2 separate regions of the Homo sapiens genome follow, and region 2 is linked to region 1. Evidence: promoter capture Hi-C in 16 types of primary human blood cells and fetal thymus (Javierre and others, 2016). All regions are on one chromosome and are shown on one strand. Each heading gives the region's core, a stretch centred on a gene start or on the middle of the fragment in contact. The rest is flanking DNA. Distances are from core to core; before and after follow the strand shown. Region 1 holds the start of GARIN1A (golgi associated RAB2 interactor 1A). Region 2 overlaps CALU (calumenin).

Region 1 (6,821 bases), core at 2,275-4,774:
GGTAAATGGACCCTGGGGCCAGGTAACATTGGCCATCAGGAGGACATTGGGGAGTGGCAGGGAGGGCACCGAGGAGGTGACCCCGAGGATCACGGTGGCAGACCCTTCACAGACATCTCTCCAGTTCCCGGGCTTAGTGACCTGGAAATCAGCCTCAGGTACATGGGTCAGAAAGGAGCAGAAAACAAGGGGTGGAATACAGATGCTGGAAAGTGGCACATCATCTTGGGGGCAGGTGTGCACACACTGGGCTGGGCCCTGACCTGCTATTGATCCTTTTCATTGGCCTCCCCAAATACACTTTAAGGTCATTGGCTGCAGGAACCCTGTGTCATTCTTCTCTGGGTCCTCTGTTTTATCTAACTAAAAAGATAACTGTTTTATCTAACTAAAAAGATGCACTAGCAAGAAAAAGCTGAGTGGCACTGAAGTTTTCATTCCCCCATCTTTGGGCAGGAGAAGCCAGCACTGGTTTCTAGTGGCCCAAAAGGGAGATTGTGTGAAGAAAGTCCCAGAAGGAGAGGAAAGTGAGGAAAAAGCTGTTGAATGGGGAAGACCCAGACAGCTTGAGTTGAGGGAGGTTTGGAGCACTTCTCCCAGGATGATGGAGGGGCTATCTTGTTGCTGGGTCTTGAGTGGAATGAGGACCTATTCTCTTGAAGCAGAAGGCGGCCATCACAGGACAGAAAGACTGGATGCCCACCACTGGGCACTGTGTCTCAGCTAAGACACCCCCCACCTCACTGTGCACGGCTGGCAGAAAAGCACCAGAGCTGTGGCCACTTAGGAGCCACAGGGACCTGGATAAGGAACATATGAGGAGGGACGCCTATGTTCCCAAGGCCAGAGGGCCTTCTCCCAATGCTCTACACTTTTTTTAGAAAATAGAGATGGGGTCTCACTATGTTGCCCAGACTGGTGTCAAACTCCTGGGCTCAAGTGATCTTCCCTTCTCAGCCTCCCAAAGTGCTGGGATCACAGGCATGAGCCACTATGCCCAGCCAATGTTCTAGACTTTGTAAAACTATCGACACCATTGCCCAGTCCTTGGTGGAACTGGGGATGAGGGAAAGCCCCAGGGATGACTGAAATGTAATTTCCCACCAGCCTGACCAGATGGTGTTCCCAGAAAAGTGAATTTTGATTTTGAAAAAAAAAAGTGACACTTCTTGGAGCCCTTGTTGAGGAATGAAATTCATATCCTCTGCAAAACACAAAGGGTTGTACACATTGAGAGTAAGTGCTCAATAAATGTTTGTGGGTAATGCTGCTTTGAGATGATGATAGTGATGGTGATGTGCAGGAAGGGGGAGAGAGGAAGCAGTGTAACTGTACTATAACAACTATAACTATAACTAATATGTGGGTTGCATCACTTCAAGTAAACTTTGGACTGTGTGCGGTCATTCATGCCTATAATCCCAGCACTTTGGGAGTCCAAAGCCGGAGTATCACTTGAAGCCAGGAGTTCAAGACCAGCCTGGGCAACATAGTGAGACCCTGTCTCTATCAAAAATTTTTTTTTAAAAAATCAAACTTTGAACTTTTCTGTGCGGGTCAGCCTCTCCCTAGCACATTCTAAGTTTGCTGCTACCCAGGTCACTTAGTGTCCATTCAGAGAATCTAAACAGTTTTAATATTAGGCCAAAGAAAACAGCACTTTGGGAGGCCAAGGCGGGCAGATCATGAGGTCAAGAGATCAAGACCATCTTGGCCAACATGGTGAAACCCCATCTCTACTAAAACACAAAAAAATTAGCTGGGCGAGGTGGTGCACGCCTGTGGTCCTAGCTACTCGGGAGGCTGAGATAGGAGAATTGCTTGAACCCAGGAGGCAGAGGTTGCAGTGAGCCTAGACCATGCCAGGGCAACGGAGTGAGACTCCATCTCAAAAAAAAAGCACACATTAAGAGAAGAAATTTGCAGCTGAATCATTACACCCAAATAGAAATGACTAGAAATTGGATCCTGAGACTGGACTTCCCATGTTATTGCTCTGTCTCCACCAAGGGTATGTTAGGAATGAGCTCGCCTCAGGTTTGCCAGCTGATCACCCAACTACACATCTCCTGGGGCACAGTAAAGGGACCGTGGAGCGGCAGGAGCCATAAACACAGCTCTCCAAAATCCGGGGACTCCATTAGGGAGCAGCTCGCTGCTCTGTGAAGAGTCTCCAAATTAAGCCCAAGACCCACCTCAAACTGTTCCCACCTTCTCTCCTATAACCCCTGGCTACTTTCCCATTCCATTTGAATGGGTCTGTGTCTTGCAGACCTTGCATTCCAGCCTCCCTGCCTTTCCTTAGGTACTTTGAAGCCCCTCTGTCTGGGATATCCTCCCCGCTGCTCTTCCACTTACCAAAATCTCAGCAGTCTCTCAAAGAATGGCTTAAGACCCTTCTGGAAAGCCTTCTTCAACTGCCAAAGTCCAGAGAGAATGCCTTGAATGAATGCCCCCAGCACCTGCTCTCTGCAGTCATGCCTGGTGCATCAGCTGGCCCAAGCTCTCTGACATAGAGCTTGCTTAGACAGTTACCAAATAACAGGTAAACCAAACTCATAGGCTTCCTGGCCAGGGACACTCTGATTTTTCTCTGCACCTCCTGCCCTGCACTCAGTAGATGTTTAGTGTGTGCTTACTGGCTGATTAACTGGTTATGCTCTCCTGCGCAGGAGCATGGGTTCAGGCTAGACCGCTAGAGGGAGGCAGGCAGCACCCGCGTTAAGACTTGATACTTACGAAAACGACCACCTTCCACTCCCAGTGGCCCCATCCCAGGCTCACTTCCATTGGTCATGTCACCACCATCCTTTTAGGGAATGGTAGGATCTGGGCAACACCTATTTACCCAGTGTCTTTGCTTTCAAACAAGGCTGTTTCTAAACCATCCCAGACTGAGGAGGATGGATTTCAGAGCAGAGTTTCTAACAGCAACCTTCATTCCCTGTAACCATCCACTTTGGACAAGTGGCCCAGAAAGGGCCTGTGAACCCTGCCTGGAGACTGAGCTCTGATCTCTCATTTGTAAAGCATAAATCAATTTCCCTAGAACAGATGACCTGCAGGTAGCTCTATCATACGGTAGGCACAAATGGAGGTGAACTTGGGACCCAGACCTTCTGGTTTTCTCTAGCTTTGGTGGCTTCTTTGTCCCCCCGCCCCCCCCTCCCCCAGGGCTTTAAAAGGCCACAGCATCTCCTAACCAACCCCTAGGAACAGGTTTTGGAAACAGAAAGACAGCTGGCCCTGAGCTCCACGAGGGTACCTGGATAAAGTTGCTTTCAAACACCACCGAGTTGGAGAACAAATTGAATTCTGGAGAATGAATCAGTTGACAAAGAAGGCCATTTTCCACCCCAAGTTCCACTCCAGGGCCTGGTTCCCTGACCTCAGGTGGGAGGCCCCTGATTTTACTCATTGGTTCTTGGTAAGAATGGGCTTGGGAACATTTCTGGGGCTCCACGCCGACCCAGCCCAATGCCAGGATGTTGATGTGATCTGCCCCCACCTCCCCAGCATTTCCTCCCCATTTACTTACGGGCTGTCCACCAGGGCTGGGAGGGCCTGTCAGCTCACAATGGCAGGAATGACATCAAGGAATGTGATGGTGACAACAGAAAAGGGAAAAAAAAAAGAAGAGGAAGGACAGAGGATGTGCCAGGCTCTTTTCTCCCTCTTTCCACCAACTACAAACCAGCAGTAATGCAGCCTATTCCACTTTGTAAACATTCAGCCTTACCCCACATGGAAAAAATGACCCTCCCAAAGTTATGCCAAGGCAGCAGTGAGCTGGCCAGATGCAAGGAAGGCTCTCGGGAACATACAGGCTTTAATCCTCTTGGCTCCCCTTGAAGCCCCTCACCAAACTTCCATGGGACTTGTTCACCTGCCCAGGGAAGTCTAAGGATAGGAAAAAGGGAGTTCATCTTCCCTACCCCATCTCATGGGAGAAAAGGAGATTTTTTTTTTTTTTTAAAGAAATGGACACCTGTTAACTAAACTGAGAAGCTTATTTATTTGGAAACAGTGGGCAAAGGAGAAGGCAGTGGCACAGTTGTATGCTGGAGCCAGACCAAAACAGGTCACGAGAGCTGGTTGTTACATTTTCAGGAATGCTACAAACCAGTTGTTAAACACAGCAATTATTAAAACTTTTTTTTTTTTTTTTTTGAGACAGAGTTTTGCTCTTGTTGCCCAGGCTAGAGTGCAGTGGCGTGATCTCGGCTCACCACAACCTCCGCCTCCCATCTTCAAGCAATTCTCCTGCCTCAGCCTCCCGAGTAGCTGGGATTACAGGCATGCACCACCACACCCGGATAATTTTGTATTTTTAGTAGAGACAGGGTTTCTCCATGTTGGTCAGGCTGGTCTGGAACACCTGACCTCAGGCGATCCACCCACCTCGGCCTCCCAAAGTGCTGGGATTACAGTCATGAGCCACCAAGCCCAGCCTTTAAAACTTAAATGATATAAACTTGGCTGGGCTTGGTGGCTCATGACTGTAATCCCAGCACTTTGGGAGGCCGAGGTGGGTGGATCGCCTGAGGTCAGGTGTTCGAGACTAGCCTGGTCAACGGGTGAAACCCCGTCTCAACTAAAACTACAAAAATTAGCCGGGTGTGGTGTGGGTACCTGTAGTCCAGCTACTTGGGAGGCTGGGGCAGGGCGATCGCTTGAATCTGGGAGGTGGAGGTTGTGATGAGCCAAGATGGTGCCACTGCACTCCAGCCTAAGCGACAAAGCAAGACTCTGTCTCAAAAAAAAGAAAAGAAAAGAAACAGTATACAGTGGTGGGCTGCTGCATATCTCTTCCCAGGGTGTGTTCAGGAACTTCATCTTGTTAGCTAGCTTGAAATCAGCAAGTGCTACAAATCAGGGTTTGATTTATTGTTCTGTTGATTGTCTAAACTAAAGTGATAGAGAAAATGTTAATTATGCAGATTAAACTTAAAGATGTGTCTGTAGCTATTATATTTTGGGCATAGAAAAATCTGAGAAAATAGCCTTCCAGTATTTGAAGACTTACCTAATTTAGCGAAGAAGTTGCCCACGTCATTGACAAATGAGTAAAGTTCCAATACACAACTTTGTTATTTCACTTTTGCCTTGCTCATTAATGTAAATCAAAATATCAACCAATATTCATGTCAGAACTATACTTGCTTGTCAGTTGCAATCATAGGTTGGCTAGAAATATCAGCGTTTGACAAAAATCAACAAAAGCTTTTGGTAAGAATCAACTGGTCATATGAAATTTACAATAAAGAGTATTATAAGGCCAGGTGCAGTGGCTCACGCCTGTAATCCCAGCACTTCAGGAGGCCAAGGTGGGTGGATTGTTTGAACTTAGGAGTTCAAGATCAGCCTGGGCAACATGGTAAAACCTCGTCTCTACAAAAAATACAAAAATTACCCGGGTGTGGTGGCACGCCCTGTGGTCCCAGCTATTTGGGAGGCTGAGGTGGGAGGATCACTTGAGTCCAGAAGGCAGAGGTTGCAGTGAGCAGAGATTGTGCCACTGCGCTCCAGCTTGGGTGACAGAATGAGACTCCCATCTCAAAAAAAAAAAAAAAAGGGATCCTAAAATTGTATATTTAAAAAGAGAAAAAGGGCTAGGTGCAGTGGTTCACACCTGTAATCCCAGCACTTTGGAAGGCCGAGGCGGGTGGATCACCTGAGGTCAGGAGTTGGAGACCAGCCTGACCAACATGGTGAAACCCCATCTCTACTAAAAATATAAAAAATTAGCCGGGCGTGGTGGCAGGCATCTGTAATCCCAGCTACTCGGGAGGCTGAGGTAGGAGAATCACTTGAACCTGGGAGGTGGAAGTTGCAGTGAGCTGAGATCACACCATTATTGCACTCCAGCATGGACAACAAGAACAAAACTCCACCTAAAAAAAAAAAAGAAAGAAAAAAGAATCCAACATCAGATCACTTCCCAGTTGGATGTATGAAAATTGGCACTTCTGGCTGGGTGTGGTGGCTTACACCTTTAATCCCAGTACTTTGGGAGGCCAAGGAGGGAGGATCACGAGGTCACGAGTTTGAAACCAGTCTGGCCGATATGGTGAAACCCTGTCTCTACTAAAAATACAAAAATTAGCTGGGTGTGGTGGCATGCGCCTGTATTCCCAGCTACTCAGGAGGCTGTGGCAAAAGAACCATTTGAACCCGGGAGGCGGAGGTTGCAGTGAGCCAAGATTGTGCCACTGTACTCCAGCCTGGGCCACACAGTGAATCTCTGTCTAAAAAAAAAAAAAGAAAGAAAGAAAAAGAAAATCGGCACTTCTTTTTCCATTCCAGGCATCAGCGAGGTAGGTGTAAGAGCTGGTGTTCAGGGCCGGGCGCGGTGGCTCACGCCTGTAATCCCAGCACTTTGGGAGGCCGAGGCGGGCGGATCACGAGGTCAGGAGATCGAGACCATCCCGGCTAAAACGGTGAAACCCCGTCTCTACTAAAAATACAAAAAATTAGCCGGGCGTAGTGGCGGGCGCCTGTAGTCCCAGCTACTTGGGAGGCTGAGGCAGGAGAATGGCGTGAACCCGGGAGGCGGAGCTGGCAGTGAGCCGAGATCCCGCCACTGCACTCCAGCCTGGGCGACAGAGCGAGACTCCGTCTCAAAAAAAAAAAAAAAAAAAAAAAGAGCTGGTGTTCAACAGTGACCCTATTGTTTTTGTGGTGGGGGCCTTTGCCTAGAGCAAGGTCAGTGTGGAATATACAGAGAAGGATGGTGTCTAGCAGCAACTACCTCCTTTCTGCTGCCCTCATCTGTGCAAAACTTATCACAGCCTTTGAAGAAATGGTGGGGGGTGCCACTT
Region 2 (6,821 bases), core at 2,411-4,910, 97 kb before region 1:
CCAAACCCTAAGTGGCAAAAACCCTACTTTCAGATGGTATTGTTTCCTCAATCCCAGAGGTAGACTCAAAACTAATTTGAAACCTCCCTGGATAGAAGAGAATTGGCAGTCCTTTCCAGCTGGGAGCACCTGCTAGTAATGGAGGGGCCTCTGCTGACAGTGCTTTTATGAAGCAGGATGGTTTGTGAATTTACCAACAGTGAGGTCTCAGACTTGACCAGTTTAGGATTACCGTAGACCCAGGAGTAGTTCTAGACTGGAATCTAGATAGTTTTCAGGATGGGGAAGATAGATTCAAAACCACCTAAGGGCATTCTGGGTACAAAGCATTGTGCAAGGCTTTGGTGATACAGAGAATAAGGTCTTTTTTCCCATACTTCCTCATCTGCCAAGGTTATCTCCAATTGTACCTTTCTCTCCAGTTCCAAGCTTGCATCATGAAGATGGTGTGTGGGAAGGCCATGACAGATGAATCCGACACATGCAGCTCCCAGAAAACAGAAGTTTCTACTGTCTCGTCTACCCAAGTTGGCCCCAACTGAGGACCCAATATTGGCCTGTTTGCAACAGCTAGAATTAAATTTTACTTTTAAGTAAGTTTCTATTGTCTCCGTCAGAAACCAAACTACTAAAAACACAAAAAAGATGGTAAAAGGAGTGATGGCAGTTTGGGGAGTCAATTTTTCATTTTCTTACTATTGCCTTCTTGCCTACAAAGCTACTGTTTCCACTGGTCTATTTCAGACCACCCAAAGGCCATTTCAACAATCATCAGTTTCTACTCCTAAGTGGCACCATTCACAGCACTTGGAGAACTGATTTCTACATACAAGGCAACCAAAAAGGAATATGCTTTAAGTTTTCAGTGTATGGATACTTTCCTTTTTAGTAACTTTTTTTTTTTTTCCTGCTGGGGATCCATTCTGAGATGATATATGCTGAATTAGAACAAACTTAAGAAAACACTTTAGAAATGGGAGAGACATAAAGAAAAAACAAAACAAAACAAAAAAAAAAACAAAAAAAACTCAGTGGCCCCAAATATGAGTTTGAAAGAACTTTTGGATAACTGCTACAGCTTTGGCAGGAACAGCCATGTCCACAAGCCCCTGAGCAAGCACAAATTATTCCAGGTGCTTCCTCCCCGTTGCATTTGGCTAAACCTTTATATTTGTCTTAAACTGTGTGTTTACTAAAGTTAATAGTTTAATTCTCTCGAGGTTCTCAAAATGAATTTGCATGTTTTAATAACATTTGTAAACAATACCAAAATGTTAAACAAAATTGTTTTACCTTATGCTCTATAGATAAACGTGTGTGTACATTCAGAATCGCTTGTGTTTGGTATCAGATAATTATATAACGAGCAGCAGGTCTCTCCAGTTATACGGCCTAATGGAAGTAAAAAAGGGTTATGGCTGTGGTGAGAAGGATGCTAGAAAATACCAGAAAACAGGGAGAAAAGAATAATCATTTAGGAGAAGGCAGTGCTGTCTCTGAGTTTGGGAGAACTTCGAGGAGAGTTCCCATTCTGACATTTTAGAGCATCCATAATTCTAAGCTAGAGTTCTATTTCTTGGAAAATGAAGGTCATACATACCCCATAATGAATGTAAACAGTTTTATTTAGAAACAGATAGGTACCTGTTCGCATTGCAGAATATAAAACTTGGTTTACACTCTATAAAAAATAACCAATATCCAAATTCAAGAGAGCTAGCATTCACAGAACACACAATATGGGTGTGTAGCTACTGTTCACCAGCCTCAGGCTTGATTTAAACAAACAAACAAAAAAAAAATTTCAAAGGGATCATTCAAGATGACCGTATAATGCTTGCTGCTGTCTTTGCAGATTAAGGTTTGCTTTTCAAGTGCATGATTTTAACATAAGGCCTGGGCTCTCTGCACCTAGTGAGGTGTGAGGCTCTCTTGCCACACAGTTCACACTCTCACTTAACTAAGCCAGAGTTGGTGGCATTATTAAATTATCACTGGTCTTCTTAATAGTAAAAATGGGGAACCCAGAGGGCAGGAAATTTCCATTACCCTATATTGGGGCTAAACTTAAAAGAGTATATCCACTATCAAGAGCTTAGTACAAAGGCTGGGGTGAAGTTACATTATACCTGGCTTTTTACCATACCAGGGAGCCCACCTCAACATGACTGTGGAAGACCAAAGGATATACCTAGGTTCAGATTATAATAAATCACCCAGCACCACCTGAATGTATTATCCACAAAGATATAGCAATAATAAAGGTTATATATACATATATTTATCTTGGTAACCTGAGGGCTAAAAACGTGGAATACGATAATTCTTCTCAAGAGGTCCATCTGTAAGAAAGGGACCCAAAAGGACAGTGTTTGTGTTGCATAAAATATGGGTAAAGTGGAGTTGGGAACAAAGGGTGGTTTCTTTAGCTCTTTCCACATCTCTCTTTGATAAGGACTGAAACCCTGTTGATTCATGATAAACGTTTCCTTTTTTTTTTTTTTTGGCAGCGGGGAGAGGGAAAGAGGAGGAAATGGGGTGTGATGGGTCAAAGGCAGGAAAGGTAAGCCATGGTCCTCAAACCAAAGAGCCCTCTCTGTAGGTCCTCTGATCTTTGAGTGTGAGCTCAAGCTCTCCAGTGGACACAGAAAAAGGCCTGGTAGTAAGTGGTTTGCATTGTGAGGTATGAGGATCCCTGGTAAATTCAGCAGCATGTGGTTTTTGGAAATCAGCCCACAAGATAAGAACACTGCAACCAAACTCATAACTAATACTGCTAATTTAACTATTGTCCAAAAGAGAAAGGGAAGAAGAAAAAAATCCCCACTCTACTGGGAGGTTCTAGGCTTTCCTATAAGTTATCCAAATAGTCTTTTTTTAATCTCAGGGTTTCTTAAGAGAATTCCCATTCAGTGACCATTTCTTTCGTTAAAGGCACTTTCAATGACATGATTGGAAAGGAGTGAATTTTAATTGTAGTGAAACCAAGATTAATTCCTTGGCACACCTGGGAAGAAGAGGAACCGGATGGGGGCATTTACAGTGATTTCAAAAGGCAAATAATTAAGTCTTGAGCATTTCAACAGATGCACACCCAGAAAAAAAATGTATGCCCCGAAAACACTTGTATTTTTCCTTTAGTTTTCCAGCTGTTTCTATCTATAGCTCTGCAAAGAGATCACATTCACTACTTGATTGATTTTCAAGACACTGGCCCTAACTCTTCCCACCACAGCTGTGCTTGACAAAATTAGCCAACAGTCAGTCCTACAGGGGGAAAAAGAAGAAAATCAATTTGGGCCAAGCTTTCCTAGAGCAAAGGGATCTTTCCTTGCCCAGGTAATGGCAGGTTCAGTTGCTGGACCTATAGCAACTGAATGTAATATGTGGCCCCTACTACCTATGAAATGTTGGACTTTTTGACAGGCAAGACTAAGTGTTCTCTCTCTAAATATAAATTGTGGAGCATATATTTTTTTTCTTTCCTCTCTCCTGAACATTTCTTATTGATCTCAGGCTTACAAAATTAGTTAAGTGAGAATTATTAAAATCATAAAAGGGGTTGAGAAAGAGTAAAGAGCTAATGTTTGTCTACATGTGTGAGTTGAGGATCTTGATCCTTCATATCATACTCCCAACCAGAGAAAAATACAAAAATAAACACGCCATGTTAATACATAATACAAAGTGTAAATCTACAAACACAAGTGTACTAATTAGAGTTGTTCCTCAGAAGCACGGCTTCCCTCCAGTCCCTCAGAGAGGAGGAGGAATGGGGACGGGATGGTTTTCATTACGCCTTTTCATGTCTTAAAAAGTTTGTAGTAACAGTCTCAGTAGCGCAAACAATTTCATGTGAAACCAGAAGCTGTAAAAATAAATTACTTTTGAGGAAATGAGGGTTCCTCCGTAGCTCAGAACTCATCATGCCGTACTAAGGCCTCCCCAAAATCTGTGGCCTGGCTGCCAACAAATAAGTCATACTTGTCAACGATCTCCTCCTTGGTAAGCTTGCCATCCTGAAAGTAGAGATAGCAATGAATTGAAGAAGAACATATTTCCCATTAAAAATTCAGAAACACTGTTATAGAAGAATTGGGGTTAATCAGAAGTTAAGATTCTCATTTCTACTAAATTAAGTGTGAACTACTCAGCCCTCATTCCCCCTACATACATACGAAGAGGGAAGAAAACAGCAATTACACATTCCTTGTTTTTTTTTTTTTTTTTTTTTGAGACGGAGTTTCGCTCTTGTTGCCCAGGCTGGAGTGCAATGGCGCGATCTCAGCTCACCGCAACCTCCGCCTCCCGTGTTAAAGTGATTTAAGTGATTTTTCTGCCTCAGCCTCCCGAGTAGCTGGGATTACAGGCATGCGCCACCACGCCCAGGTAATTTTGTATTTTTAGTAGAGATGGGGTTTCTCCATGTTTGTCAGGCTGGTCTTGAACACCCAATCTCAGGTGATCCGCCTGCCTTGGCCTCCCAAAGTGCTGGGATTACAGGCGTGAGCCATCGTGCCAGGCCAATTAAACATTTCTTTTATCAAGAAAGTTAAAAGTGGAAGGGTGGAAAGAATATAACACAACAACTCAATGCTAGAGATAAAGGTTTGTTTCATGAGGAGAAAACTCTCCTTTTAGAGGAAAATATGGAACATCTCCTAGATAGGGATGACTACATGCATTTCCTTTTCTCATACATCTCAGGACACAACACCTGGCTACTAAAGTGACTTTGAGCAAGAACTTAAAGCAGATCAACACTTAAAAAGGCTCTAAAATAAAAAACTGAATTTGAAATTGAAGATTAGCTTAGACAAAAATATACTCAGAACACTGAAAATCTCCATCTTTAGACCGATTTTCAGCTTACTCCAAGCAGGGCAGGAGTAATCTCTGAAGCAGGTGACTGGGCTTAGGGACAACAATACTTTTAACAAAATACCTCAGATAATTAATTGATCAAGGACAATTTGAACAGGCTCCAGAGAAAAGCTGATTTATAGCCCATACAAAGGACCCAATTTAAAAAAGCCTATTTGATTTAAGAAGGAAACAACCAGCTTTGAGTAGACAGAATGGGCCTGTAATAGGTAAAGGAACAAATGAAGTAACAAAGAAAAAAAAAAATTCCTGGGGATCTAAAAATACCTGATGATGCATGCTGGGCACAGGCTACACACAAAGGCTCTTTTCTGAAGCCAAATTTCCTACAATGCTATCAGCACTGGGCAAAAGGATTTCTAAAATGAGATCAGATAGCTAGTGCTGCCCTGAAAGGTTTTAATCGCCAGATTCAGATACTTGGCTGACTTAGACTAATTAAGACCTTAAATGCTCTATGCACCTTAACAGAAACTGTTCAGGTGATCCCCTAGAAGCATACTTCAATCAAGGATAGAGCGTGTGGGCCTCGCCAGACTTACCTTGTTTTGGTCTGATTCATAGACCAGGTGCCTGGCTTCTGCCTCTGCATGATCATAGTCTGAGGGAAGGATCCAGTCTTTGGTCTCTTCCTTGTCCATCTTCCCATCACGGTTCTTATCCCGAAACTCAACAAACTGCTCTCGCTCTGTCTTTACCCATTCTGGCTCATCAGTATTCCCATCATGGCTGTACATGTCACCTGGGTACACAGACATACATACAAAAGAAGGGTTTGTCTTTTCCCCAAAACTGCCTCATGCTAATCTGGCCTAACCCTTTTTCCTCATCCATTTGTTTGGAACCCAACAGCAGCTACAAGGGTATTTTAGGCCAGACAGACCTTAGAAAGCAAGGTATTTTCCTGAGGCTTAATCACTTATCTTGCAACAAGAATATTTCCAGCTGCTGATTTTAAGTCACATGAGAGCAAAGAGTTCTTATACCTTAATAAATGCAGAAATAAGAGGAGAGAGCTACCATCAAGAAAGACTTAGACTCGTTCCCTACATTTCATTTCACCCTAAGGTAGCTAATTAAACGGGACCACTTGTTTTAGAAAGGTGTAGCCAATTACTACAAAGAGTCCATTATACCAGTGGCCTTCAGTTGGGACAAGCACGCCCCTGGGGAAACAGGAACACTGTCAAGGAGTACACTGAGAAAGGTCAGTCAAGAGAGAATCAAATTCCAGATACTCAGTTCCACATATAGATTTTTCCAAAAATTGATCTTCATAAGAATGTACCTCTGGCCATCAAGGCTTTTTTCCCATCTCCCCCCTTTCACAACTGCCCTTGTCCCACTTTATAAAAGAAAGGCATATTTTCAACCATTTTGAAACTAGAGTGTAAAAAGCTCCAAGATAATGAAAAAGAAACAATTAGAAATACTAGTGTCTGGATGGGCGTGGTGGCTCACACCTGTAATTCCAGCACTTTGGGAGGCCTAGGCAGGCAGATCACCTGAGGTCGGAGTTTGAGACCAGATCACCTGAGGTCAGGAATTTGAGACCAGCCTGGCCAAAATGGCAAAACCCCATCTCTACTAAAAATACAAAAATTAGCTGAGCATGGTGGTGCGTGCCTGTAATCCCAGCTACTCGAGAGGCTGAGGCAAAAGAATCACTTGAACCCAGGAGGCAGAGGTTGCAGTGAGCCGAGATCATATCACTGCACTCTAGCCTGGGCGACAGAGCAAGACTCCGTCTCAAAAAAAAAAAAAAAAAAAAAGAAAAAGAAATACTAGTGTCAGTCTTGAGAATGCAAATGCCTGAAAAAAAATGAATAAATTCGTTTGCATGTCAAAAGGTTTTAAATTCTTTGCTTTAAAAAAAAAAACCTTGAAAAATGGCCTAATTGAGTTTTAGCTAAGGGATCATTAAACATAATTTTTGG

The links. The method cuts DNA at HindIII sites, captures the fragments that hold promoters and counts their contacts. A CHiCAGO score of 5 or more calls a contact.
Region 2: a fragment that was not itself captured here is called in contact with the fragment with the promoter of GARIN1A in region 1 in 1 of 17 cell types (M1 macrophages); the score reaches 5.1 in M1 macrophages.

The regions. Positions count from the first base shown.
Region 1 is chr7:128,668,995-128,675,815 of GRCh38, reverse strand. GARIN1A (golgi associated RAB2 interactor 1A) reads right to left here and starts at 3,524. Exons shown (of 5, transcript NM_001128926.4): 1 at 3,266-3,524; 2 at 1-141. The coding sequence starts at 3,418. RefSeq lists a silencer at 2,603-2,662. The HindIII fragment of the contact is 20,881 bases long and covers 1-4,010 here.
Region 2 is chr7:128,766,261-128,773,081 of GRCh38, reverse strand. CALU (calumenin) reads right to left here. Exons shown (of 7, transcript NM_001219.5): 6 at 5,427-5,626; 7 at 1-4,019. The coding sequence ends at 3,915. It overlaps OPN1SW (opsin 1, short wave sensitive), which reads left to right. Exons shown (of 5, transcript NM_001385125.1): 5 at 423-597. The coding sequence ends at 542. Among named protein-coding and RNA genes, the nearest start is that of OPN1SW, 6.1 kb to the left of the region's middle. The HindIII fragment of the contact is 705 bases long and covers 3,308-4,012 here.